Linked DNA regions of Homo sapiens: all the other regions are linked to region 1. The links are contacts of gene promoters, found by promoter capture Hi-C in blood cells and fetal thymus (Javierre and others, 2016). All regions are on one chromosome and are shown on one strand. Each heading gives the region's core, a stretch centred on a gene start or on the middle of the fragment in contact. The rest is flanking DNA. Distances are from core to core; before and after follow the strand shown. Region 1 holds the start of ITGA6 (integrin subunit alpha 6). Region 2 overlaps DYNC1I2 (dynein cytoplasmic 1 intermediate chain 2). Region 3 overlaps DYNC1I2 (dynein cytoplasmic 1 intermediate chain 2). Region 4 overlaps SLC25A12 (solute carrier family 25 member 12).

Region 1 (3,500 bases), core at 380-2,879:
GTGCTTCACCTAGCAGGTGTTATCAGAAAAAAAAAAAAACTGACTAAAATTCAGGGGCTGCAACATTCACGAATTCCAAAGTTGTTAACCGCTGAAATCAAGAGGTTTCCTCCAGTTCTAAAATCCCATTCGCCTCTCCTAAACACAAAATCTCTTCACTGTGGCTGCACTTTGCTTTCTCCGGTCTGTTGGTCCTGGAAGGTCCTTAGTTCAACTCAAGGCCTGGGTGGGGAGGGGAGACCTTTTGTTGCTACAGCCTATTTTTCAGTAGCACAGATGAAGAATGCAACCCCATAGCGATTAAGGCGACTAAGCGCCAAAATACCCTCTCCGGCTTAAATAGCCGATCATGTGGGAACCAAACACTGTTTAAGAAATAAAAGGAGAGGCCAGTAGTGCCGGTCTCCTCTTTCTCCTGGGAGGTTTACCGCTACGGTGGGGGGTTGTCCCTTACAAACCTTGTTTGCAAAGTCCAGGCTCAGATCGGACATTTTGCTTTAACCCCTTGGCTGTGCCCGCCCAACGCAGGAGCCGAGCGGGTCTCGGGTGCGGCCGAGTACTTTGGGGGCTGGGCACATCACTCAGACTTGTTTTCTCAGCTGATCTAGTCCAGCGAACAGGTGTTTGGTTAATTCCCGCCCCCACCCCCATCTTTTTTTTTTTTTTTTTCAAAGGCATGTAAAAGTATCTCCTAAGGAGCGCCCCCGCCTTGCTGAGAAAGTCATGCAGGACACATGGAAAGTGGCTTTCCAACTTGTGCGGGGCGCGCCAGTCTGCGGGGGAGACGGGGTGCACCGTGAGTTTGGGAAAGGCCTAGACCATCCTGGAACTACGCTCCCTGCAAACCCACAGCAGCGCTGCGGTGACCCTGAACGCCACCCCAGCCCCAAACACACACGTGAAGCTCAGCAAAGCGTGCCACCTGCCGGGGTCCCAGCAAACACGCCCGGAGGGAAGAACCGGCGGAAAGCACTTTGTTTAAAACAGAAAAAAAAGTAAACTCTCCCGGGGCCCAGCCTAGCCCTCGGGTTCTCCTCCTTCCCGAGCTGAATGGAGGGAGGCGCCGCGCGGGGCGGGTCAGGGCGGGGAGCCGAGCGCGCTGGGCGCTGGGTGCGCCTCGGCCGGCCCGGGCGCGACCCACGGGCCAACTACTCCCCGGGGCCGGCGGGAACAGGGCGCGCCCTCGCCTCAACTCGCGCGCAGGCCGGCGCCCCAGTGGGGGTGGGAAGGGTCTGGGAACTCACAGCCGCTTGTCCTCGGGCTGCAGTTGCCAGTGCATGGCCAGCGAGAAGCCGAAGAGGCTCCCGGGGTCTCCATATTTCCGGATCACGTTGTCCTCCCGAGTGTCCAAGTTGAAGGCTGCGCCGAGCCGGGACAGGAGCCCCGCCGACAGGTAGAGCAAGCACAGCTGCCCGGCGGCGGCCATGGGCGGACGCACGGGGAGGGGAGCGGGGACCTGCAGCGGCCGCCCTGCGCTCCGGGCTGGGTCCGAGGCTGCCGCGCTGCTGCTACCGCAGCCACCTTCGCCTCCTCTCGCCGCTGCGCCCGGCCCCACCCCCGGGACGGGTCGCGCTCTCCGTCCGGCCGCTCCCCCTCGCGGGCAGCTCGCGACCGCTGAATGAGCCCGTTGTTCTCTGGAGACTCGCAGGCGTTTTATCAAGTGACGAGGACGCCGGCCCCGCCCCTCCCCACCCTCTCGCCCCTCCTTGCGCGCCCGCGGCCCGGCGCACCGCCCGCACCTTACCCGCCGGCTCTGGCGTCTCCAGCTGCCCGGTACCTGCCCGGAAGCCACGACGTGGGAGCCCCGGAGGCGAGCTCGCGGCGAAGCAGCCCCACTGCGCCGCCCTCTGTGGACAGAATTGTGGTTGCCGAGTAGCACAGAGCGAGGGAGACTTTACTACCCGTTATAAAGAGAAGTGCAGGTGATGCACCGGGCCTCATGGCCTGAGCAGCCTGTTCTTGCAGATGTGGGCCCACGTGCAGATGCATACGTCATTCATTCATTTCTACAGGTGTTTATGGAGCGCTTAAGGCGTGCCCAACACTTGGGGACTACAGCTGTGTAGACTGTTCTGGGTCCTCAAACACCTAACAACCCTCAAAAATGATCACAGCGCACACCTTGATAGTGCTGTATAATGTACACAACCCAGCCATTACCTCAATTCATCCTAACAGTCCTATGAGGTAGGTGTTTCTTTTTGCAGATCAGAAAACCGAAGTTCCGCCTTGTCCCCAGATCACCTAGGATTTTGCCCAGGTGACCAGGAGAGCTTGTGGAAGAAGTCACGCAAGTCAAGGATGGGTTGTTTAAAGTGGCGCCAGGAGCTCAGGCGACGATGCCGTTCTTTCCTAGCCCCGGACTTTCAGAACTAGTTGTGGGGAGAACTGCTGGGCCAAGAGACAGCTCCGAGTTCTGTGTAGGTGGCATGAAGGCTCCTGCCTCCAGGACATGAGGCGGGGCTCCAGTGAGGTGTTGGCCCTAGGGGCAACCTTATCCTGCAGGGGTTCTTAACCCGAGGAGAGGTAATTAATTCAAGAGTACTGTGAACTTGGATGAGAAAAAATTTACGTCTTAATTTTCACCAACCTCTGACATTTAGCACGTTTTGCCATTATGAACGTAGACAACAAACTACAGTAGCAGTAGGATAAGTATTTATGACTTAGTAATCACTAGAAACCATAGGTTTTTACATCACATCACAGTTGTTGCAAGTATCTCAAATAACAGTAGTTATTAGACAATCAGCCAGATATTATATGTCAATAATGAAGCATATATATTGCTCTAGCACAAATTTTTAAAAACATTTTGTTAGCTACATTTCAATATTATTGGCTTTTTTTGTAACCTCTTGTGGTTTCTTTTATGTATTTAAAACCCTTATTCTGAGAAGAACCCCATGGTTTTCAGCAGCCTGCCAAAGGGGTCCCATGGCATGAAAAGGTTGGGACGTGCTGGCCTGAAGCCTTCTGGAATGCCTTGGGGAGCCCTCTTTGGAATCTGACATCCCTGCATTGGAAATACAAGCAGGGTGCAGCCCCAGGAAAGAGCAGGAGCTGTGTGTGCATAGGGGTAGGGGTGGCCTCTTCTTCACCTCAAGGAGTATTCAAGAGAACAGCATGTGCCACTCAGAAAAGCTGCGTGAACATCATCAAGGGTCCCCACAGGTGGTAGCAGCTGTCAGAGTAAGTCCGTCAGTATATTAGGGGTGTGTACCACTTCCTTTCCAATCAGTAACTCCAGTCAATTATAGTCCAAAGTGGGGTGCAGTGGTTTAAATTCAGTAGATGATTTTGGAGAGCACACAGTTTTAACAAATATATCTTGATAAGGTTGAGAAACTATTGGAGACAATCTAGTAAACTAAGAAGTACTTGCAACGTGATTTTTCATGCAAATAAGTTGCAAGTTAGCCTTTTCCCTTCGTGTAAAATATGTACTATTCCAGAGAGATGGGGTCCAGACTATTATAGGCATAGTATAATGAACCTCA
Region 2 (3,500 bases), core at 323-2,822, 720 kb after region 1:
TAAATGGACTCAGGGTACATAGAACATCACACAGAATATTCTTTCACTAAAGATACTGGATAAATGAGGTGTCACAGTAAAATATAACTCTTGTCCTTACTACGTGATACAATATTATAAACTTAAGCAAAATAAAATTAGGACAGTTTCACAAAGAATCAAATTCATTATAAAACAGGGAAGGTAAAAAATCTATTCAATACCCCAAATCGGAATCTGAGTGAAGCTGAAGAACTGATGGATCTGTATCCCAATGCAGCGTCCTAAATGGTTGTAGGACAACCATGAAGCATTAGCAAAAAAGGCCATAAGTTAGTCAAGCAAATACATTCTATGAATAGCTAAAGCTAAAGTACTATTCACAATTAAAAAACACATGTTCTGGTTAGTATTAAAAAAAAAAAATCGAAAACAAAACAAGAAATCCACCAGGTCACTCAATCATCTAGTGCATGCAATAGGCTTCCTATGGTTAAAGATGCAAGCATACAACCCAGAATAGTTAAAAGACATTATTTGCAGATTATGGGAAACTAATATTGTATAATAATAGATCTGCTTTAGAACAACTAAAGTCAGACAACCCAAGTTAATTATTTATGGATAACAAGCTAGGCTATAAAATGGTTGAAATTTTAAGATTCCTAATGAAAACAAACACATTAAAACATCTTGGTTAACATATTCTAATCTTCCCCAAAGCATTACATGTGTGCAGGAAATTGTCATACTGGTAAAGGAAATGAGTCAACACATAAGCCTTTTGGTAATAAAACCAAAGACTATCCCACTGGGATACAAAATAGCTAAAGTTTCCAAAATGTGACCCTTCTGTAATTTATGGGTTAAGCACCGCCTTGGGCTTACGTATCATCTGCTTAAAGAAAACAACTAAAGATTTCTGTCTCTAGGAAAAAAATAGATTTTTCCCTGGAAAAATATTTTATGTTCAAATGTCAATCCTAAATATTGAGTTATAAGTTTTAGCATCGCCTGCTGGCTAAGTAACTTACAGAGGATCTTTTCCACTTAAGCCAAACTTAGTTACTAATAGAACAAAAGGTGCTTTATCATACTGGCATTTATATAGGTTAGCAATATATAAGATAATTATGTATGGTACTGTATAATGCTCATAGTCCCCACTAAATAAAGTTAAGCACAATACATTTAGTATTACCATTTTTGTCAAATATATTTTTCACTTATGTAAGACATTATAATTTATAACTAGTTTTAGTTGCTACAATGTTTTAATACAACAAATGGTTTCTCTACCTGCCTATATAATTTATCAAGAAAAATAGTAATGAATTAATCTAGAGAAATCCTTCATTTAAAAAATATAAAGAAAGATCTTGGAATTTAAACAAGGTTATGTGTATGCAATGTAAGAAGCAGCCACAGTGAAGATCTACTTTGTACTAAGCAATGAATAGCAACAAGCTTAGGCTTTGTTAAATCAAAAGTTCTATGAGATGGTCTCCAAGGAATGTTCTGTCATTTACATTATGTAAGAGCTCTGTTATCAATGACATAAAATTCCTTGTTGAGGATGTCATTTTAGTCTAAAATCAAGTAACACTGTACCTCAAAATACAGCCAGTACTGAAAATGCACTGGACATACCTGTACATTATTACATTTATTAGGGGCATCTTCAGGCACATAGAGTACAATTCCAAGTACAAAGCTTGAGAAGTAAACTGATCAAAAATGGAAAAATGGGCCAGGCACGGTGGCTCACACCGGTCATCCTGGCACTTTGGGAGGCCGAGGTGGGCAGATCACTTGAGGTCAGGAGTTCGAGACCAGCCTGGCCAACGCGATGAAACCCCATCTCTACTAAAAATCAAAAAGTAGCTGGAAACCATCATTCTCAGCAAACTATCACAAGGACAAAAAACCAAACACCGCATGTTCTCACTCACAGGTGGGAATTGAACAATGAGAACACTTGGACATAGGAAGGAGAACATCACATACCGGGGCCTGTCGTGGGGTGAGGGGAGGGGGGAGGGATAGCATTAGGAGACATACCTAATGTAAATGATGAGTTAATGAGTGCAGCACACCAACATGGCACAAGTATACATATGTAACAAACCTGCACATTGTGCACATGTACCCTAGAACTTAAAAGCATTAAAAAAAAAAAAAGTAGCTGGGTATGGTGACACACACCTGCAATCCCAGCTACTGGGGAGACTGAGGCAGGAGAGTTGCTTGAACCCAGGAGGCAGAGATTGAAGTGAGCCGAGATCACGCCATTGCACCCCAGCCCGGACAACAGAGCAAGACTCTGACTCAAAAAAGAAAAAAAAAAAAAAGGAAAAAAGGAACAAGAGGCCTGGATTACCCCACTGAATAATTGTTCCTAAATTTTTGAGATAACAAATGTAATGCAGCTTCCTAATCTGCAAAGTTAGAGAGAGATTATTTCTCACGACCTTTTATATTTATTCATAAATTACCACCAGTCCCAAAAGAAATTCTTGGCACTTAGAGTGATTCAAACATGTTTAGACAGCATATTTTATAATGTCTTATCTATTCCTACTCCCTGAGTGTATTAATCTTAGACCATCTTAGCCAACTGAAGTTGCACGTACAGGTGCATGCACACATCTCACATGTCTTCATGTATTTTCCTATTATATTTCTTCTAATTGTCTTTATTCTTACATTAACATCGTGTTTGCTCAATATGAGTTCATTAGGTTTCATTCTGAGACCTGGGCACTCTTTTTAAATGTCACATATTTAGAAATGCATTATTTCACTGCCAATATCACCATCACAATATTAATTACCTCTATGAAAGCTGGATATGATTTAGTAGAATTCATCATTTTCTATTACTCTGTGTGTGTGTGTGTGTGTGTGTGTGTGTGTGTGTGTGTGTGTATATATACATAAAAATGAATATACTCAGCCCTCTTGAAAATTAATGTTTCCAAGTGAGTCTGTGCTCTCAAAGGAGACAACGTACATATTAAGGTTAAAAAGATGTGGCTGGGTGCGGTGGCTCAAGCCTGCTACCCCAGCACTTTGGGAGGCTGAGGTGGGTGGATCACCTGAGGTCAGGAGTTCGAGACCAGCCTGGCCAACATGGTGAAACCCTGTCTTTACTAAAAATACAAAATTAGCTGGGCGCGGTTGTGCATGCTTGTAATCCCAGTTACTTGGGAGGCTGAGGCAGGAGAATCGCTTGAACGTGGGAGGTGGAGGTTGCAGTGAGCCAAGATCGTGCCACTGCACTCCAGCCTGGGCAACAAGAAGGAAATGCCATCTCAAAGAAAAAAAGAAAGATGTAAGGTCACCTCACTCAAAAAGAGGATTTTTCTCTCCGTTAAACTCACAAGAAACCAATTTTGTATTCATTATCTAACAAGAACAAATACTTTAAAAAATATTAACTATTTGTTTTTGTGTTTTACAATTTATCATTAAAAAAACTATGCTTCACACTAAACATAGCACACTACCCTTAGGGCTTT
Region 3 (3,500 bases), core at 626-3,125, 680 kb after region 1:
TTGAACCAAGTTTGTTCTCTCATTGATTCAAAAAAGGAGTTCCACTTGCACTTTTCAAAGGCTCCAGATACCACAGTCGATGTTCTGTATATAACAGAAGAGGAACAGCTGAGTCTAGGATGGAAATTCAGAGTGGGTCATTTTTTTTTCTACTAAACATAATCTGTAACTTTATCATAGAATGTAATAAAACGTTCCTAGAAAAAGTATCACTGATGAAAAGCAATTGGTATTTTTCTCAGTTCACTGCTACTCCTGAACACTTGAGGATTCTGCTGAGGGTTTAAGTTATGTGATTTCCTAGAATTAAAAAATAATAATTTCTTGAACACCAACCCCCTTTATCCTGAGCTCATTACATTGCACAGAGGCGTACACAGATGGTCTCTCTCCCTTCTTGTATTCTTAACAAGAAAATGAAAAATAAAATCCCTTATTTGTATAGTACTTTGTAATATAATTTACAAAGGTCTTCACATATACATTTTCTCACATAATTGTCACAGAAAGCAAATATTTTCCTCATTTAAAAGATGATAATACTTAACCTTGTCCTAGGTTACACTACTAGAAATGGGGGAAATCAGGAATAGAACTTGGGTCTTTTGTACCCAGTGTTGTTTCCCTCATATACCAAGCCACTCTTAAATATAAGAAATTTTGTTTCAATGCATTTCCATTACCTTGTTCAGGAAAAAAAAAAATCTAGTAAAAAAATTCACAAAAGATAAAATTACTTGCTATCAAAGTCTTACCACTGGTATACCTGATTTCAGGAGTCACAGTGTCAGATCTCTGCATGTTCGGCCCAACGCAGGTGTGTTCTACATCCATACAATCACCGCCCCACAGCTTTCTGACCAAATCAAGTACATTATAAGAGAGGCAAGATAATACATTACCAGAGACCTGAATAAGCGACCTCACAAAGTGAAACAGACCTTTCAGAAAGCTTACCTGAGTGCAAGCTGTTCCATCCTCTGACTGGGAACTGGTAATGGAATATTAAGAAGCCAAAACTGGGATTCCTGCTATGAAACTAACAACACAAAATACCATAATTTTATAAAAGTTTGTAAAAGACTGCTGATTGGCTATGTGGAAACTATCAGTGGCTAAAAGCTACATACTGAAAACTTAAATTCCTGCTATCCATTTGAACTTTTAGAAGTTTGGGAATTGTGAACATGGCAGGCAGAAAGACAATCTAAATACCTAAAGTCCAACAAAAGGAATGAGAGAACTGGCCTATTGTGAAAAGCATTCCAGTGTGATGGATTCCAAGTTTTATAGTTGGTATTCTGGTTATCAGTGTAGGATTTTTCTCTAAGATGGACTCCATAACATGTTTCCTATTTATGAAAAAGGATTTACAAAATATAATACAATACAAGCAAATTACTACCATTTGGGGGCTGTAAAACTTTTGAAAAAACTGGTTAAAAGAAGGTTCCTAATTGTAATCTTCCCCTTCAAAAGAAATACTGAAAATGGCTGTTCTCTTAATACTGCCTTTGGGGCAATTTCTAATTCTCTGACAGCATTAGGAACCCCTAGATTTGTAAGCCAGATCTCTAAGTAAATAATTTCACAGCATCAATAATTTTTAATTAGTAAATGATAAGTTCCTAGTTGGGAGTGACTTTTCCTCAAACCTGTAAGGTCTCTAAGTTGCCTAGCACAGGGGGCCCCAACCCCTGGGCCGCAAACCAGAACCAGTAGTGGTCCATGGCAGGCTGTATAACAGAAGGTGAGCGGCAGGCAGGCGGGCGGGCAGGCGAATGAGCAATACCACCTGAGCTCCCCGTCCTGTCAGATCAGCAAGTGACGGTATTAGATTCTCAGAGGAGCGCAAACCCTAATAATGTGAACTGCACATGTGAGGGATCTAGGTTGTGTGTGCTCCTTCCTTATGAGAATCTAATAATGTCTGATGATGATCTGAGGTGGAACAGTTTGATCCTGAAACCATCTCCCCAACCTCCCTGGTCCGTGGAAAAATTGTCTGCCATGAAACAAACAGATGATGGCTGGTGCCAAAAAGGTTGGGGACTGCTGGGCTAGCAATCAGCAAGATGGTAGCCTAAGGAAAGCAAGATCTCCTTTCTTGTTGCTGTGTAGCTTGGATTAAAAACAAAACTCAATGGGAACCCCATTACTAAGTCATCAAGAAGTAAAGCTGTTGGCTTTTTAACCTTGGCTTATCCTGAAGACTAAGACATGACACCAGCATCCTAGATGATAAGCAGCATCTGGAGCTGCATTTGGAGCTCCATTCTCTTTAGCATACATTTAATTATACAGCTTTCTCATTTAGAAAACTATTAGAATGTCAATGTTGAAATACTGGGGTTGTGGAAAAGACATTTAAAAATACACCGCCCAGTGAGTGGCAGGTGACCACTGAAATTTATGGCAGCGCTTTAGGGAAAAACAAACAAACAAAAAAACCTACTGGCTTTCTGACTTAAAAGTAATGCACTACTCAATATAAAGCAAAGATAGTATGATATGCTTCACAGCAGATTTTCACTCATCCATTCAAGTCTTTCTGTATGGTTCAAGGGGTGGATATTAGTCTATCCACACTAGTACAGAACAGACTAAAACATTTTAACAACACTGAAAGACTAGGACCAATCATTCCTAAAACGACTTTCCTATAGTTCCTCCCACTAAATTTTAAGTCATCCATTCCTTTGAGATGCAGTATTTCAGCATTATTGTAACAACATTTTATACAAAGAGATTTTCTAAACTTTATAGGGAGCTGGATCTGTAAACAGGAAGAAAGCTTCTACCAATGCATATTTGGTTTAAATAATACCAAAAAATGATTATTTCAGAGATTTATTGCAAGTTAATTGTCTGTGAAGCTGGATATTCCTTAACATGAAGGTAATAAACTTTAACGTTCCACTCAAAAAGACAAAAACCAAACAACGAAAAATAAGAAATTAACCAGAAAGCTATAGCTTGTTTTCTTACTCAGAAAAAAAGTATAACTGATAAGGTACAATTTCTGTAACTGGATATTTTTCAAAATTATAAGGCTTTTAGTTCTAAAAGTATAAAGAACTGTGATGCACTTCTAGTCAACCTAATCTTGCTAGAAGCTTTATCAACACTGACAGTCTCAATACTTTCTCTTTTGCTATTATATAGTCAACTTTAAAGGTAATTCCTTAAAGTAAATTTGTGTGTTCCTAAAAATATGGACTAAAGTTGAATGGGCAAAGGTATACATCGCATTTTCTGGGGGAGTAGGGGAGAAGTCATTCCCAAAAAGTGAAATATTTAAACAATTTTATTCTTTCTTTCACAACTAAACACACCTTGAGGCTGAGGAACATGTGATTTGCCATATGATTTCCAACCTTTTCTTATCCATTATGTTTTAACACTTGTTTTCCCTACTTTTAGTCATTTTTACAAACTGAAGGTAAAGATACAGTAACTACATGAGTAGTGAGTACATGAATTTTTCTATATAAAGAAAG
Region 4 (3,500 bases), core at 709-3,208, 620 kb after region 1:
GTATCCTCAAAGCAGGCTTAAGATCAGCAGTCAGCAAGCAGGCAAACACATATATAACTCCCCTTTGGCTGGATGATTTAAAGGATATAAAATGTTTATTGTTAGCATCTTTAAAAAATGTATGCAAAAAAGTATGCTAACAATTTGGATAAGCTGTGTGCTTTAGAAAGCTGAGCCCAACAGATGTTGAATTGTTTATTTTTTTCTTTTCCAGTTTACAACCAGCCTGGGGAATTTAACTTTCTAAGGATTATGATTTCCTTTGTTTTGAGGGGATTCTTTTAAAATGTCTTAAGCTTGACATATATTAGTCAATAAGAATACAACAGGCATATGTTTTTGCTTATAGGAGATACTCGTTAAACAATACTTAAAACTGCATTTTTCTTTGCAGTTTTGGCTTCCTTTTAAATAAATGAATATTGAATGCTGTGTTTCTCTGAAGAGAAGATTATGGGAGTTAGTATTCTATAATAACGAAGCCACTGTATGCCATTATGTAGGTAGCAAAATCTGGGTATGCTTAACAGCATGCTTTTCAGAGCTTTTCCAAGTGTACAGTATCTGTGTATGTTTATATGTTGTTGGTTGTAATAAGGGAGGGAATTTGGTTACATTGTTATTGGCAGTGTTCCCAGAATAGAGAAGACGCATGGCTCCGTTTCTTCTTCATGGACTTTTTGGGAAGTGTTGGATAACTAGGCTTTAAAGTAAGCATGCTTAAGAAGAGGATTTATAGCCTCAAGAAAACGTGACATTATACTGCATTTGTAAATAATTATTACATATGTATACAGAGTTTTAAGGATAATCTTTTTCCCATTTTAATGAAAACTCTGCAATGTTTGATGGGTAAATAATATGGGGGAAACTCTTTGTTGCTGGGCTTGTGTATTCATGTCTGGTACAGCTATATTGCTGATGATTCTGTCCCTTTACCTAGGTCTGATACCACAACTTATAGGGGTTGCTCCAGAAAAGGCCATTAAACTGACTGTAAGTTTATCTCTAACTGAATTTATGTCATTTGTTTAGATTACCATTAAGCCAAAAAGCTAAAATCAAGGCTAGGCGTGGTAGCTCATGCCTATAATCTCAGCATTTTGGGTGGTGGGAGGATCACTTGAGACCAGTTCTAAACCAGCATAAGCATAGTAAGAACTCAGCTCTACCAAAACAACAACAACAACAACAAAATTAAAAATTAGCCAAGTGTGGTGATTTATGCCAGGAGGCTGATGTGGGAGGATTGCTTGAGTCCAGGAATTTGAGGCTGTAGTGAGCTATGATCATGCCACTGCACTCCAGCCTGAGCAACAGAGTGAGACCCTGTCTCAAAAACAAAACTAAAATTGATGCTGCTGACACTGGCACACTGTCGCAGAATTTGTACAACTTTAATTTTACATGTAAGCATTTGATAATTTTAAATTTTATCATAAGACAAATATTTTGCTGACTTGGAAAAGCAACAGTATGCCAGAAGAGAAATGGTTGGGAATTTTGGTTAACTGATGTTGTCTTTCTAATTAGGTTAATGATTTTGTTCGGGACAAATTTACCAGAAGAGATGGCTCTGTTCCACTTCCAGCAGAAGTTCTTGCTGGAGGCTGTGTAAGTATTACTGTTAGGCGCTTCTTGTGACAAATACATTCCGTTGACCTTTTTGCACAGATATAATAGATATCTTAGTGGCATTTCTCTTGAACTCAAGGGATTCTAAGCAGGTTTTCTCAATAATCATATGGAATAAGTTTTAAATTTTATTGTAAAAGCTAACGGGTTTTGAGTGTAGAAAAGAGGTAGCATTTTCCGCCAGTTAGAATGGTGATCATTAAAAAGTCAGGAAACAACAGATGCTGGAGAGGATGTGGAGAAATAGGAACCATTTTACACTGTTGGTGGGAGTGTGAATTAGTTCAACCATTGTGGAAGACAGTGTGGCAATTCCTCAAGGATCTAGAACTAGAAATACCATTTGACCCAGCAATCCCATTACTGAGTATATACCCAAAGGATTATAAATCATTCTACTATAAAGACACATGCACACATATGTTTATTGTGGCACTATTCACAATAGCAAAGACTTGGAACCAACCCAAATGCCCATCAGTGACAGACTGGATTAAGAAAATTTGGCACATATACACCATGGAATAATATGCAGCCATAAAAAAGGATGAGTTCCTGTCCTTTGCAGGGACATGGATGAAGCTGCAAACCATCATTCTCAGCAAACTGTCACAAGGACAGAAAACCAAACACCACATGTTCTCACTCATAGGTGGGAATTGAACAATGAGAACACCTGGACACAGGGCAGGGAGCATCACACACTGGGGCCTGTCATGGGGTTGGGGGTTGGGGGTTGGGGGAGAGATAGCAGTAGGAGAAATACCTAATGTAAATGATGAGTTGATGGGTGCAGCAAACCAACATGGCACATGTATACCTATGTATCAAACCTGCACATTGTGCACATGTACCCTAAAACTTAAAGTATAATAACAAAAAAAGAGGTGGCATTTTCATCAGCTCTATCTCTTTGATGCTCCTAAAGCATTACCTTCCAGACTTTTTTAAAAGTTCTAATTCCTATGCCTTTTAAGAAATAGAGTACAGAAAATATAGTAGTGGATAGAGTTACCATTCATATATGTTAACTGGAACTTTAAAACAAGTGTGAGATGGCTGATTAATTGGGCCCTTATATCTTAGGTATAGGACTGAGTAAGCCATTGTTTAATAATAATTTTTCTTCTTTAGAGGCCAGAGGGTATGGCAAACAATAATAACGGTAACTACATTTCAGCTATTGACAGAAATTCTGAACCAAGAGACTCAGATATTTACTTAGCGCACAAAGGTTTCTGTCTTTAAAGTGTAAGCATGACATGATTATTGGCAAACAATAATAACGGTAACTACATTTCAGCTATTGACAGAAATTCTGAACCAAGAGACTCAGATATTTACTTAGCGCACAAAGGTTTCTGTCTTTAAAGTGTAAGCATGACCAATTCTTAAATCTATTTGCAGCTCAACTAATTTCATTTGTGGTATTTGTTTCATATTTGATAACACATGGTTCGTTTCAGACTTGTTTAGTCCATTTTGTTCTTGGAAACATTAATAACTTCCAGTTGAATTGGCTGACAGTCTTGGCTAAAACTTCCTCAGTTGCTTGTGAAACCTGAAGTGATGAGGTCAGTGACCTTGGCAACATTTAATTCAGAGACACTGCCTCGGGGGTCAGAGAGAGAGAGAGGTTGCTCCAGATTCTCTTTGATATGTGTCAGTGTGGCACATACCTGAGTCCTCTGCAGAGTTGCTTTGGAAGAGGTGGACTGCTGTGTGGGTGTGTGTGTGCCTGTATGCATGCCCCAGCACATTCTCAGGAAGGAAATCTCTTTGGCTACATTTCTTTTTTAATGAAGAGTTAACAGTGGACATAGAATAAAACTTTTGCTTAGGTGGATCACCAAAAATGAAGTTTC

The links. Contacts are between HindIII fragments. The CHiCAGO score rates a contact against its expected background, and 5 or more counts as called.
Region 2: a fragment that was not itself captured here is called in contact with the fragment with the promoter of ITGA6 in region 1 in 5 of 17 cell types (total CD8 T cells, activated CD4 T cells, naive CD8 T cells and 2 more); the score reaches 8.1 in total CD8 T cells.
Region 3: a fragment that was not itself captured here is called in contact with the fragment with the promoter of ITGA6 in region 1 in 1 of 17 cell types (naive CD4 T cells); the score reaches 5.5 in naive CD4 T cells.
Region 4: a contact is called between a fragment that was not itself captured here and the fragment with the promoter of ITGA6 in region 1, in 1 of 17 cell types (non-activated CD4 T cells). The highest score is 5.3, in non-activated CD4 T cells.

What each region holds. Positions count from the first base shown.
Region 1 is chr2:172,425,715-172,429,214 of GRCh38, reverse strand. ITGA6 (integrin subunit alpha 6) reads right to left here and starts at 1,629. Exons shown (of 26, transcript NM_000210.4): 1 at 1,245-1,629. The coding sequence starts at 1,426. RefSeq lists an enhancer at 317-817 and a silencer at 1,602-1,681. The HindIII fragment of the contact is 11,901 bases long and covers 1-3,500 here.
Region 2 is chr2:171,709,530-171,713,029 of GRCh38, reverse strand. It overlaps DYNC1I2 (dynein cytoplasmic 1 intermediate chain 2), which reads right to left. Exons shown (of 18, transcript NM_001378.3): 6 at 204-263. Among named protein-coding and RNA genes, the nearest start is that of DYNC1I2, 24 kb to the right of the region's middle. The HindIII fragment of the contact is 247 bases long and covers 1,449-1,695 here.
Region 3 is chr2:171,749,493-171,752,992 of GRCh38, reverse strand. DYNC1I2 (dynein cytoplasmic 1 intermediate chain 2) reads right to left here. Exons shown (of 18, transcript NM_001378.3): 18 at 2,835-3,500. Among named protein-coding and RNA genes, the nearest start is that of DYNC1I2, 64 kb to the right of the region's middle. The HindIII fragment of the contact is 1,842 bases long and covers 955-2,796 here.
Region 4 is chr2:171,807,720-171,811,219 of GRCh38, reverse strand. It overlaps SLC25A12 (solute carrier family 25 member 12), which reads left to right. Exons shown (of 18, transcript NM_003705.5): 12 at 944-996; 13 at 1,534-1,614. Among named protein-coding and RNA genes, the nearest start is that of SLC25A12, 85 kb to the left of the region's middle. The HindIII fragment of the contact is 3,320 bases long and covers 299-3,500 here.